Linked DNA regions of Homo sapiens: regions 1 and 3 are each linked to region 2. Evidence: promoter capture Hi-C in 16 types of primary human blood cells and fetal thymus (Javierre and others, 2016). All regions are on one chromosome and are shown on one strand. The core of a region is centred on a gene start or on the middle of the fragment in contact, and the rest is flanking DNA. Distances in the headings are between cores, read along the strand shown. Region 1 holds the start of CEP290 (centrosomal protein 290). Region 2 holds the start of CAPRIN2 (caprin family member 2). Region 3 overlaps RAB3IP (RAB3A interacting protein).

Region 1 (3,619 bases), core at 1-2,500, about 57 Mb after region 2:
TTTTTAGTGGTGATGTAGATATTACCAGGTATTTTCACAAAGATTACCTTATATAAGAACAGATTTTTATAGTTCCACTAATAGCCAAACCTATAGTTAAAACCTACTACATACAAACCTTCATTAGTGACTGAGTAATTCTGAAAAGGTGTATCACATTTTCTTGCTTTTCACTTTTTAGCTCATTTACTTCCACCTAAGTAAACAGAAAAGCAACTGTTTTATATTTTATAACCTTCAAGCAAAATATAAGAACACTTCCAGATTGTGACAATTATAGTTGTCCCTGAAAAAAATAAATTCATATTTTATTAATAAATTAATCATAAGTTAATGTATATATCTATTATTATTGACCAATTAAGCACCTTGGATAAGGAAATCAATAAATTATCTGCCAGTTCTTCTTGACGGGGCAGGTCATCTGGGTCAACTTTCATTATTTCTTTCCAGTTTATATTAGGTGGCATCTTGAATTCTTTCACTGTGCTCCACCTCTGTAACAAAACAGGTGTATATTAGCATTTTCAAGGTACACAGTATTATTGGTTTTCTAGCACCTTACATTTTTTGCAGATTATTTCATTATAACTTTCTGATGTTAGCAAAACAGACAATTGGGCCACAAAATAGACAAGTGGGCAAAATAGCCTTGATCAAAAATAGCAGTCGGCACAAACTGTCAGAGTGTCCCGGCTAAATAAAATGTGACGGCTTCCTTGCTAACACTAATCTAAGTTAATACTTAAGATTTCTGGATCCCTTCCTCCACACCCCTACCCACAATGCGCGCGAACACCCTAATCCTGGCAAGCGCGAGGGTCTGTGGAAGGCCGACAATCATCCCTGATTTGGAGAAACAGAATTGGGGCTGAAAAAAAACGCAGAAATTAACATTTGGAATGAGTGAAGTTGTGCGGCGGAAACTGGAACCGAAGCAAGGCAGTATTAGGGACCCGAGGCTGGAAGGGCGGGGTAGCTATGCTGTGGCACACGGGCCCTCAGGCTAAAGAACCTGAGCGTGGAGTGACTCGCTAATCCTGCTTACAAGGATCCACCCACCTAGACCAAGCCTGGCAACCAGCGGAGGCCTCTCACTACCGCAACCACCAAGCTGGACCCGGCCGCGGGCCCTGACAGATCCCTATCGCGGTTCCACGCGGACTCTGGGTCCAGCCAAATGGTCCCGAGCAAGCCAAAGCGGCAGCGGCTGCTAGGCGACACCATCCCCAACTCCGCCAAGGCCAGAATAAGATCCCGGATGCCAGGAGAGCCTACAGTTCACGACCGTGGGTGATGCTTTACGTTTAGATTCTCCGCCGGAGTCCCAGAGCTCGGTGTTCAGGATGATGAGAAGGCGTGGAACGAGGACTTCAAATCCCAGAGTGCAGTTCTGCCTGAGGCTTCTGCATGCTGGGAACTGAAGTCCCTGAGAAGAGGAGGTAAGGCGCTCCCGGCATGCAACGCGTAAGACTGCGACGGTACCGGGGCGGCGGGGAAGGACCGAGAGGCGGGAGGAGCAGCGGCTCAGGCGCCTGCAAACTGGTGGCCTGAACGAGGTAGACCATGACTGTGGTTTCAGTGGCGTCACTCGCTGGGCTGCTCTTCCTGAGGTTTTCCTAAGCCATCCCCTGGCGGAACCGCCCCCAGGTGAGGTCGAGCTGTCGGTCAGCATATTGGGAGGAATTGAGGGGAGCAGTCCTGGGTTAGAGAAGCTTCTGCTATTGGGGCCGTAGGGCCTGGTCCCATTCTGAAAAAGTGGGAACACCCTGCCTTCTCTTCAGGCGTTTGCAAGCGGCGTCCAGGGTAGTGCCTTCTGTAAGAAGGAAAAAACAAAAAGTTTTAGCCTTGTTTAGTATCAGAATCTGTCTTGATAGTTAGAGTGAGAGCCGCGCAGCCGTGATCCTCGTTTGGGGGCGAGCGAAGAATTGACAAGAGGTCTCGGCATCCCGACCCCGCCCGCCTTACCTGTAGCACCATTCCTTTCGCGGATCGTGGGGCTTGATGGTTGTGGAGCTAGTATAAAGTCAAGGCTCTAGAGAGGAGAGGTTAGTACTTGTCCGGACCACTGCCGGGGGTGGAGAGAGAAGGGATCCAAGGACTCACCTGTACTATTGTTGCCACTTGCTTGGTTACCTAGGGTGCCCTTCCATGAAAGCGCCTTCTCTGGTGTTTACCACTCTTACTCGTGCAAGTTTTGCTCATCCTGCTCGTCTGCTCACAATCATGCTGGAGTATGATACATCTCTACCTAACTTTCCTAAGAAGCTGTAGACTTAAATCTAAATGACATTTCCAACTATCTGGACCAGTGCTTTGTCTTTTTTTTTTTTTAAACGCTGCTTTAAAAAAAAAATTACTGTACTTGACAGTAAATTTTCCTTTCGAAAATAAGTAATGAGTTTCTTTTTAAACCCCCAATTTGGGTAAAATAAGTAGCTCAGTACAAAATAAAAAGATACTGATTTTGTGAGATGAATTTTAAAGACATTAGTTAGATTTATAGGAATGACAATTTTACTACTTTTCTGAAAGATTATATGCCAAATACTATTCATTATCTTGTTTATTCTTCCTTACAATCCAGTGAAATAGGTGCTTACATTGTCCTCATTTTCCATCTGAGTTAAGAAACTGAGGCTTGGAGAAGCTAAGTAACTTAAATAGTGTGATTGAACACAGATCTCTCTGGCTGGAGGACATATTCTTAACTTCTATACACCTCCTCAGACATTCTGGGAAACCAATATTTGTGAAGTGCTTGTTCCTCAATCTTGCTATTTTTATTAAATGTTATATTTTAATTTTGTAAGTGTTTACTCAATAATTTGAATTAAACATTCTTCATGTTCAGTGTTCTTAATTCATAATTTAACATGGGATGGTGTTTCTGGAAAGGTGTTCTGATCTGGACCCCAGGAGAGGGCTCCTGGATCTCGCCAAGAAAGAATTGGAGGTGCATACACCCCCATTGGAGGTGGTAGACTAAGGATTGTTATAGTTATTTCTTGATTATATGCTAAACAAGGGGTGGGTTATTCATGAGTTTTCTGGGAAGAGGGTAGGCCATTCCTAGATCTGAGTGTTCCTCCCCTTTTTAGACTATATAGAGTAACTTCTTCACATTGCCATGGCATCTGTAAACTGTCATAGCACTGGTGGGAGTGTCTTTTAGGATGCTAATGCATTATAATTAGTGTATAATGAGCAGTGAGAACGAGCAGACGTCCCACCTTTCTCGCCATCTTGGATTTGGTGGGATTTGGCTGGCTTCTTTACTGCATGCTGTTTTATCAGCAAAGTCTTTATGATCAGTATCTTGTGCCCACCTCCTATCTCATCCTGTGACTTAGAATGACTGACAGACATCCTGAGAATGCAGCCCAGTAGGTCTCACCCTTATTTTACCCAGCCCCTATTCAAGATGGAGTTGTTGTGATTCAAATACCTCTGACAATGGTAGGAATGAAATTTAATAGTTACTGAGCACATGTTATGTCATACACTATGCTGACTACTGCGTGTTTGTTTTCATAATAGAAGTCTGTTTTCTCTAACACCTTTTCTTCTGTTTTTTTTTTCATTCGTTATAACTTATTTTTATGTATTCACTTACAAG
Region 2 (3,668 bases), core at 149-2,648:
AAGGTGACTGGTAACCAAAAGGGGATGAAAAGAGTTGCACCATTGAAACAGATGAGGCTGAAGGAGGTGGGGGAAAGTTAAGTATAAAATTAGGACTAGAGGGACACAGCCAGGCAATAACTTCCCTGGAAAGTCTAGACCACTCCCTTAAACTCTTTTCCACAGAAGTGAGCTCGAAACCCAATGATGCTTGAGATACTTGTACTTCCATCCTACTTTTAAAGTAATTAGTGCCGCTAGCCAATAAGGATAGCCTTTACATAGGCAAAATCTCCCAATACGGAGGATGTTTCCAGAAATTCGATTTTCCACATAGGGAGGAAGAACTGCAACGGCTTCAGAGCTCCTTTCTTCTCATGAGGGCAGATCACATTCTAAATAATTCCCATGGCCACGTGATGACACCAAAAGAATAAGCTTTCCACACCGGGACCTAAGGCTGAGCCACTCAAACCTCTTTACATGATCCCTCACCACCAGCCCTAACCTCAATCCTGAACGTTTGGAAGAAAATCCAAACTCACAACATTCTTTTATAGCTCTAAGTGAACCAGCAGCTTCTTGAACAAGAATGCTAACTTCCCCGATTGCTCTGGGGCCTACAAGGCAATCCATCACTACTGGACATTTGCAGACAGGTACTCTCTCAACCTGCAGGAACCCCGCGTTTATTCTCAGTTGTTTGGTTTAGACTAGCCCAAAACCGCTTACACCCAACCAGTTTAAGAGCTCATTCTAGCGAGCCCTTCCCGTGCCCTAATCAGTGGCCCTTGCGCACTTACGTATCCGTCTCTCGACCTCCAAGCACCCGAGGTATCCCTTTCTCCCCCCTTAGGAGCATCCCCAAACCAAGGACAGAACAGGCCCCATGCACGCCAGCGCGCACCCCCTCAAGTCTCCGGGGGAGCCTGAGCGAAGAGCACCTCTCCCGAGCGGCCACGGAGAGCCCTGCAGGCACCGACCCCCACCCTTCCCACAGCCGCCCCGGGTACGCAGAAGCCGCTTCTGCAAGGCCCCGGGGGAGGCTGACCTGCGGAAAACGCACCGACCGCGGCCCTCGGGAGCCCCGCCCCGCCCCGGGGATGCCAAGCCGCCCCTCCACCTCGCAGCGGCGCCGGCCGCCCAGACCTGCCCACCCTCGCCGGGTCAGCCGCCTCCCTCCGCCGCGCCGACCGAGGCCGCCGCAGCCCGACTTCACCTCCCCAGGCAGCCGAGGCCGCCGCTGCCGCAGCCCGGGCCCGCCTTCCAAAGCCTGGGGGAGGCAGGAGCGCTGCGGAGGTGGACCGGCGCCACCCCGCACTCGCGTCTCCTCCTCCTGTCTCCTCCCTCTCCCCTCCCGGTCCTCGCCCGCGGCCTCTGCGGCGCCAGAGACCCAGCCGACTCAGCCGCTCGCGCCCAGGCCCGCCCACCGCGCCGCGCGTGGCTTTTGTAGGCCGCGCCCCGCCCCGGCCCGCTCCGCCCTCGGCCGCCCCGCCACCGCCTCCTTCCGGTGCTCCTTCCCGGCTGCAGCTGGCCGCCAGCGCTTGTCGGGTGTTAGTTCCGGGCCCAGCTTGGGCTGGTGGTAGGTCGGGAGAGGGCGCGGTCTCCCAGCCTTTGCGCAGATTGCGGGGCACCAGGTGGGGCCGAGGCGACGCCGAACGCCGGCAGGCCGGAAACCGCGCAGCCCCGCTGGACCTCGCTGATTGCCGGCGGCACCGGTGGTTTCGCGACCTTGAACAGGTGACTCCAATAGCTCCAGGAGGGCAGCGAGCCCTTCGCGGAACTACCAGATAAGCCATGCTTGAGGCTGTCGTAGCCTAGTGGGTAGTCGTGAAATGCAGATGCGCCTTTGCCCCTCAGATAGCATCTTTCATAGTAGGATGGGGAAAAAACACCGTTTCCTTACCGGGGAATCAGCCTGTAAGAGCAGAATGCCCCAAATCAGCATCGCCATAAAAACGGAGTAGGTGACTTCGCAACCTGCAATAATAGGATTGAGTTTATTCAAGCCGTATTATTTGTTCATGTGACACACATTAATTGACTGGCACGCAGAGAAAGCTGTAAAAAATCTTTGTAAGGTTACATAAAATTAAGAGAAAAGTCTGGAAATATGTAAAAGTTTATTGAGGAAAGGAAGGTGTTTCTGATACCAAATAAGAAACACACACACACACTCAGCAATACTTTGCCCCAACATGTGTTTACTTATTACACCAAGTGGAGTTTTTTAGGTCCTGATTGTCCCTGACGCTCTGATAAAAAATATTGAGACTAGCAAAAGAACAGAAAATTCAGAAGAAGAATCAAGGAAACAAAGGTCTAGTTTTAAAAGCCTTGGTCAACTTCACACAAATTAATTTTAACATTACTTAATACATTTTTTTGGCATCTATTATCCGTGTTCTTTTCGGTCCCTGGTGACATAATGTACCCTAATGTTGCATTTTAACTTTGAATCTCTGAATCCCATATGTGTTCTTCAGGGTCAGAGAAATACTAGATTTTCCCTTTTTCTCATTGTTTATAAACAGAGAAACGCAGAAGATGCTGAACATGAGGAGAGGAAGGCTATGCCTTCACCTTTGGTAACACAAAAAACAGTGGCCATAAGAAAAAATGTGAAGGACACACTGTTGGATCAATGAGTTGACACAAAGTTACAGCACAGCCTGAGTTGTAGTCCGAGCTAATGATGAACCTAAAAATGGTATTTCAGTCAGATTAATCATGAAATGTTTGCCCCCTGCCGGCGCAGTGGCTCAAGCCTGTGATCCCAGCACTTTGGGAGGCCGAGGCGGGGTGGATCACCTGAGGTCGGGAGTTCGAGGCCAGGCTGGCCAGCGTGGTGAATATCCATCTCTACTAAAAATACAAAAATTAGCCGAGCATGGCGGCATGTGCCTGTAATCATGGCTACTCAGAGGCTAAGGCAGGAGAATCGCTTGAAACCCGGAGACGGACGCTGCAGTGAGCCGAGATTGTGCCGCTGCACTCCAGCCTGGGTGACAGAGCAAGACTCTATCTCAAAAAAAGAAAGAAAGAAAGAAATGTTTGCCTTCTAATCGGTCAGGCAAAAAGGAGGCCGTAAATTTTAAATTTTCTACTAAATGGATATTCTTCTAAATGAATAAATCCATACAGATTTACTTCTCAGGAAGGATTATAAAAATGCATCACGAAAGAATGCAAAAGCAAAAATAATTGAATTTCAAGTCCAGTAGGGTACAGTCTGTATACGTATGGCGTGACATTTGTAGGAGAACATACCACAGTAGATACTCTTGAAGCAATGTCTTCTGAACAAGTTAAAAAGATGATTCAGATAAAAGCTTTTCTGCTAGAGGAGATCTTTAAAGTCAGTAAGTCTGGCTTACTTTGAAAGCACATGTCCCCAAAACTTTTATTTGTCAGGAGTTTAGTTTATTTTACCCTCTCCCACTCCCTATTTTCTGTAAGACCGTGACTTTTCTTGCCAACTGTGAGGCAGTATCTGTGGCATGCCACCTCCAAGCTTAGCAAGGAATAACTATATTGGAAATATGATAAAAAGTGTTGTCTCGAATCATTGATAGAAGAATATATTCATTTATTCATTCAACAGATGTTTACTTAGCACTTGCTATGTAGTAGGTGATAAGGCATAATGGTGACTGAGACAATATAGCTTCTGCCTTCGTGGAGCTAAG
Region 3 (3,813 bases), core at 582-3,081, about 39 Mb after region 2:
TAAGTCTAGTGCTTATCAAGCGAAGTCCTGGTGTAAGCTTTATACTCATTTACTCTCAGAGTGAGCGAGGAGATAATACTTTATCCCTATTTTGTAGTTGAGAAAATTGAGACCCTGAGACCTTATGTAGTTTGCTCAACGTCACATAGTTAATTAAGTGACAGGTCTAGATTAGATGTCAGACAGTTTGTCTTCCATGTCTGTGCTCTTAACCACTACACTCTGTCATTTCTTCATGTATAAGTGGTAATGCTAAAGAATTGTTTGCTCATAATCACTACATTATCACTTCTTTATGTGTAGCTTATAATGCTGAAGAACTTTGTAATTTAGCTTTTATGAGATACGTAATGTTAATGTAATATGTAATTCTCATTGTGTCACCAGAGATTTTTTTAAATCAAATACTCATTGAGCATCTACTCTGCAAGTCACAGTAGGGGTTAAAGGAAACTGTTCTTAAGGAATATGGAAGGTAGGGCCTTATAATCATTCCCATATCTTTTATAAGTTCTTCAAAATGTAGAACGCACTTTACATATTTTAATGAATGTCAACTAAGACAAAGTGCTAGGATAGTTGAGTAGTGGAGAGGAAGGACAGATGGATAGTGGGTAGAGATATTTGTGCATTGAGGTAATGAGGGAAAGCTTTGAAGATATTCCAAGGGAGTACGCTTTTTCACACTAAACTTTTTTCCGATATAATTCTGATTAAGATGCAGTTCATCAAAGGATAGTAAATTGGTTACTACGCATTTGATATCCTAAAAACAAAATATCTGAGCTTTTGTAAACTGCTTTCTAGCTTGTTTCTCCTTTTTTATGCTACTATCCTTAGTTGTACCAGATGGTACTCTTTTTAAAAATTTTATGCTTTTATAATACTGAGTACCTCTTTTTTGGTATTTATGAACTTTGATATTTGTGTTGTATTTGTAATTGTTTCTAGGGCCCTAGAAACATGTTTATTGGCAAGGTGGTCTCTTCCTCTAGTCTACAAGTGCTTCGAGAGTAGGGCTTACCTCATTTTATAGCTTTAACATCGGGCCAGGTAAGTACTGTGCTGTGTTTGGTGATGGATGATCAGTTGAAGAATGTTAGGATGTTTTGAAGCTGCTCTAGCAGTAGAAATTGAAATGAACATTGAGAAATGAAGGGACAAAGGAAGGAAGAGGAAGATATTTATACAACTGGGAGCATTAACTTGCTATCTCTATTTTCCCTTCTGCTTTCCTTTTCAACTTACCACTAAATGAGGTAGTTTTATAAGCTTACATCGTACATAGTCATGGTTAGAGAAAAGTGGAAAAAGTAATCTGATTTATCTTAGAATATAGGGCAACACGAAATTAGATAACTATAGCCGTAAACTGATATTACTTAGAGGAAAAAGAATGAAAATTATTCAAATAGTTCAAGTTCATGAAAGATTTGATGCTTGTCGTTAACAGTAGGATTGTAAATATAATCATAATGGCAGTTGATGAAATTCCTCTGAGGGGTATGGATACATACACAAATAAGTATATGAATTGACAGCTTAGTATGAAGAAACTATTCAAGAATGTGAGAATGCCCTATGAGCATAAAGGAGCATATAGATGATAGCTTAGAACCACTTAAATAAGTGAATTGTAATTTGATATGCCCAGATAAAAGTAATAGTATTGAATATTTGTTTGGGAGCATCTGGTTGTCAGATAAGGATAAAGTATAAAAGAAAAACCAAAATAAGTTTGAAAAAACAATAAGCAAATTTGTATCAATTCCCTGTGGGGAAAAGAATCATATTTGAACTACATGCCTCATAAAGACTAGTTTTCCCTTTCTTTCCTTTTACCTAAGATAAATAAAGATACCTTCTGATTTGTAAGACAAACCCCTCAGTATGCTTTTGCTATTTCCCCCATTACATTTTTTTCTTTCTTAGATCTTTATAAAATCATACATTTATGTTGTGCTTTACAATGTATACATTTTTACATTGATATGCCATTTGATTTTCTCAAATGTAGGCAGGGGAGATAATATCACTACCATTATAGATGTCAAAACTGAACCTTAGAGAGATTAAATGACTTGCGTCAGTTCACACAGCTTGTCAGTGACAGAATCTGAACTAGAAGGAAGGTTTTCTGAAGTTAGTCTGTTAAAATGCTCAGGTTTTCTCAAACTTCAATTTCTCCAGTTTTGATACTCTCGCAAAGTATTTACTGTTTCATTTCTATCTTTTTCAGCAAAAATGTAGCCTGAATAACTGTCTCCACTCTTTACCGCTTTGCTATTCATTCCTTCTCTAAAGACTCTTGTTTATTTATTTAGTCAGTGCGTATTTCAGCACCTGTTGAATGTTTAGTTGGCATATATTCTTAAGAGAATATGTAAAATGAAGCTTCCATTATTGAGAAAAAGAAATTTGGAAAATGATTTTTTTAAAAAATTATACTTTTAAGTTCTGGGATACATGTGCAGAATGTGCAGGTTTGTTACATAGGTATACACGTGCCATGGTGGTTTGCTGCACCGGTCAACCCATCATCTACCTTAGGTATTTCTCCTAATGCTATCCCTCCCCTAGCCCGCCACTCCCCCACAGGCCCTGGTGTGTGATATTCCCCTCCCTGTGTCCGTGTGTTCTCATTGTTCATCTCCCACTTATGAGTGAGAACATGCGGTGTTCTGTTAATTTAAATAAATATTTAATTACAAATAAATATTTGTAATTAAATATTAGCTCATTGTATTATTACAAATAATTATTTGTAATTAAATATAATATTAGCTCATAAGTTCAGAACATTTTCTGAAAACTGTCAACATAACACACTGCAATAACTAACATCTCTACACATGTCAGGTTGTACATTGAAGTGTTGTGGAATTAGGCCGGGCATGGTGGCTCACACCTGTAGTCCCAGCACTTGGGAGGTTGAGGCAGACAGTTACTTGAGGTCAGGAGTTCGAGACAAGCCTGGTCAACATGGCAAAACCCCATCTCTACTAAAAATACAAAAAATTAGCTGGGTGTGGTGGCAGGCGCCTGTAATCCCAGCTATTCAGGAGACAGATGTTGCAGTGAGCCGAGATTGTGCCACTGCACTCCAGCCTGGGCGACAGAGCGAGACTGCATCTCAAAAAAAAAAAAAAAAAAGTATTGTGGAATTAGTGGGAATTCATTTGTGATCTATTATAATAAAAATGGGAAAATTGTGTAGCCTGATTGACCATTTGAGTAATTTTGCCCTTGGGCTATTAATTACATTTGCATTTATAAACATAGAATGCTTCTTAAAAGATAAATGTGATTTTTTTTGTCATAACTAAAATGCTAGTTTGGGAAGCCAACTTTAAAATTATTATGAAAGCTAATGAAAAAATGATTTTATATATATACTTGTTTTGTTTTTTCCTCCTTTATTATACAGTATTTGAATAAATTTTGAACTTTCCTTTTTATTTTGAGAGCACTATAAATTATGGAGAGTTTCAAATAAGGTAAGTAGACACAATAGTATAATGAACCTAAAAGTTTCCATCATGTAGCCCAGTAACTATCAACAGTGATCAGTCCTCATCCATCCACTTCTCCCACTTCTATATTATTTTGAAACAAATTGCAAGTCCTGTGTAATTTCACCTGTAGGTATTTCAGTATTTCCCAAAGATAAGAGCAGTTAACTGCAGTACTTTTACAAACTTTGTTCTTTATTTATTTTTTCATTTTAATCTACATTTCCTGCTTTTATTATTACAAATTTTCAAAAATTAACACTAATTCCTTGGTATAAAATATCTACACTTTTTAAAAAAA

Evidence for each region. Contacts are between HindIII fragments. The CHiCAGO score rates a contact against its expected background, and 5 or more counts as called.
Region 1: the fragment with the promoter of CEP290 here is called in contact with the fragment with the promoter of CAPRIN2 in region 2 in 1 of 17 cell types (non-activated CD4 T cells); the score reaches 7.0 in non-activated CD4 T cells.
Region 3: a fragment that was not itself captured here is called in contact with the fragment with the promoter of CAPRIN2 in region 2 in 1 of 17 cell types (non-activated CD4 T cells); the score reaches 6.7 in non-activated CD4 T cells.

What each region holds. Positions count from the first base shown.
Region 1 is chr12:88,140,838-88,144,456 of GRCh38, forward strand. CEP290 (centrosomal protein 290) reads right to left here and starts at 1,251. Exons shown (of 54, transcript NM_025114.4): 1 at 1,063-1,251; 2 at 369-497; 3 at 119-196. The coding sequence starts at 470. It overlaps TMTC3 (transmembrane O-mannosyltransferase targeting cadherins 3), which reads left to right and starts at 1,470. Exons shown (of 14, transcript NM_181783.4): 1 at 1,470-1,650. RefSeq lists enhancers at 1,091-1,530, 1,337-1,840. The HindIII fragment of the contact is 8,380 bases long and covers 1-1,713 here.
Region 2 is chr12:30,753,553-30,757,220 of GRCh38, forward strand. It overlaps CAPRIN2 (caprin family member 2), which reads right to left and starts at 1,399. Exons shown (of 19, transcript NM_001385503.1): 1 at 1,199-1,399; 2 at 1-7. It overlaps LOC645485 (a long non-coding RNA gene), which reads left to right and starts at 1,522. Exons shown (of 2, transcript NR_135046.1): 1 at 1,522-1,719. RefSeq lists enhancers at 773-852, 856-1,025 and silencers at 953-1,632, 2,724-2,927. The HindIII fragment of the contact is 2,894 bases long and covers 416-3,309 here.
Region 3 is chr12:69,741,557-69,745,369 of GRCh38, forward strand. The region is part of intron 1 of RAB3IP (RAB3A interacting protein); the gene reads left to right. Among named protein-coding and RNA genes, the nearest start is that of RAB3IP, 4.6 kb to the left of the region's middle. The HindIII fragment of the contact is 1,122 bases long and covers 1,271-2,392 here.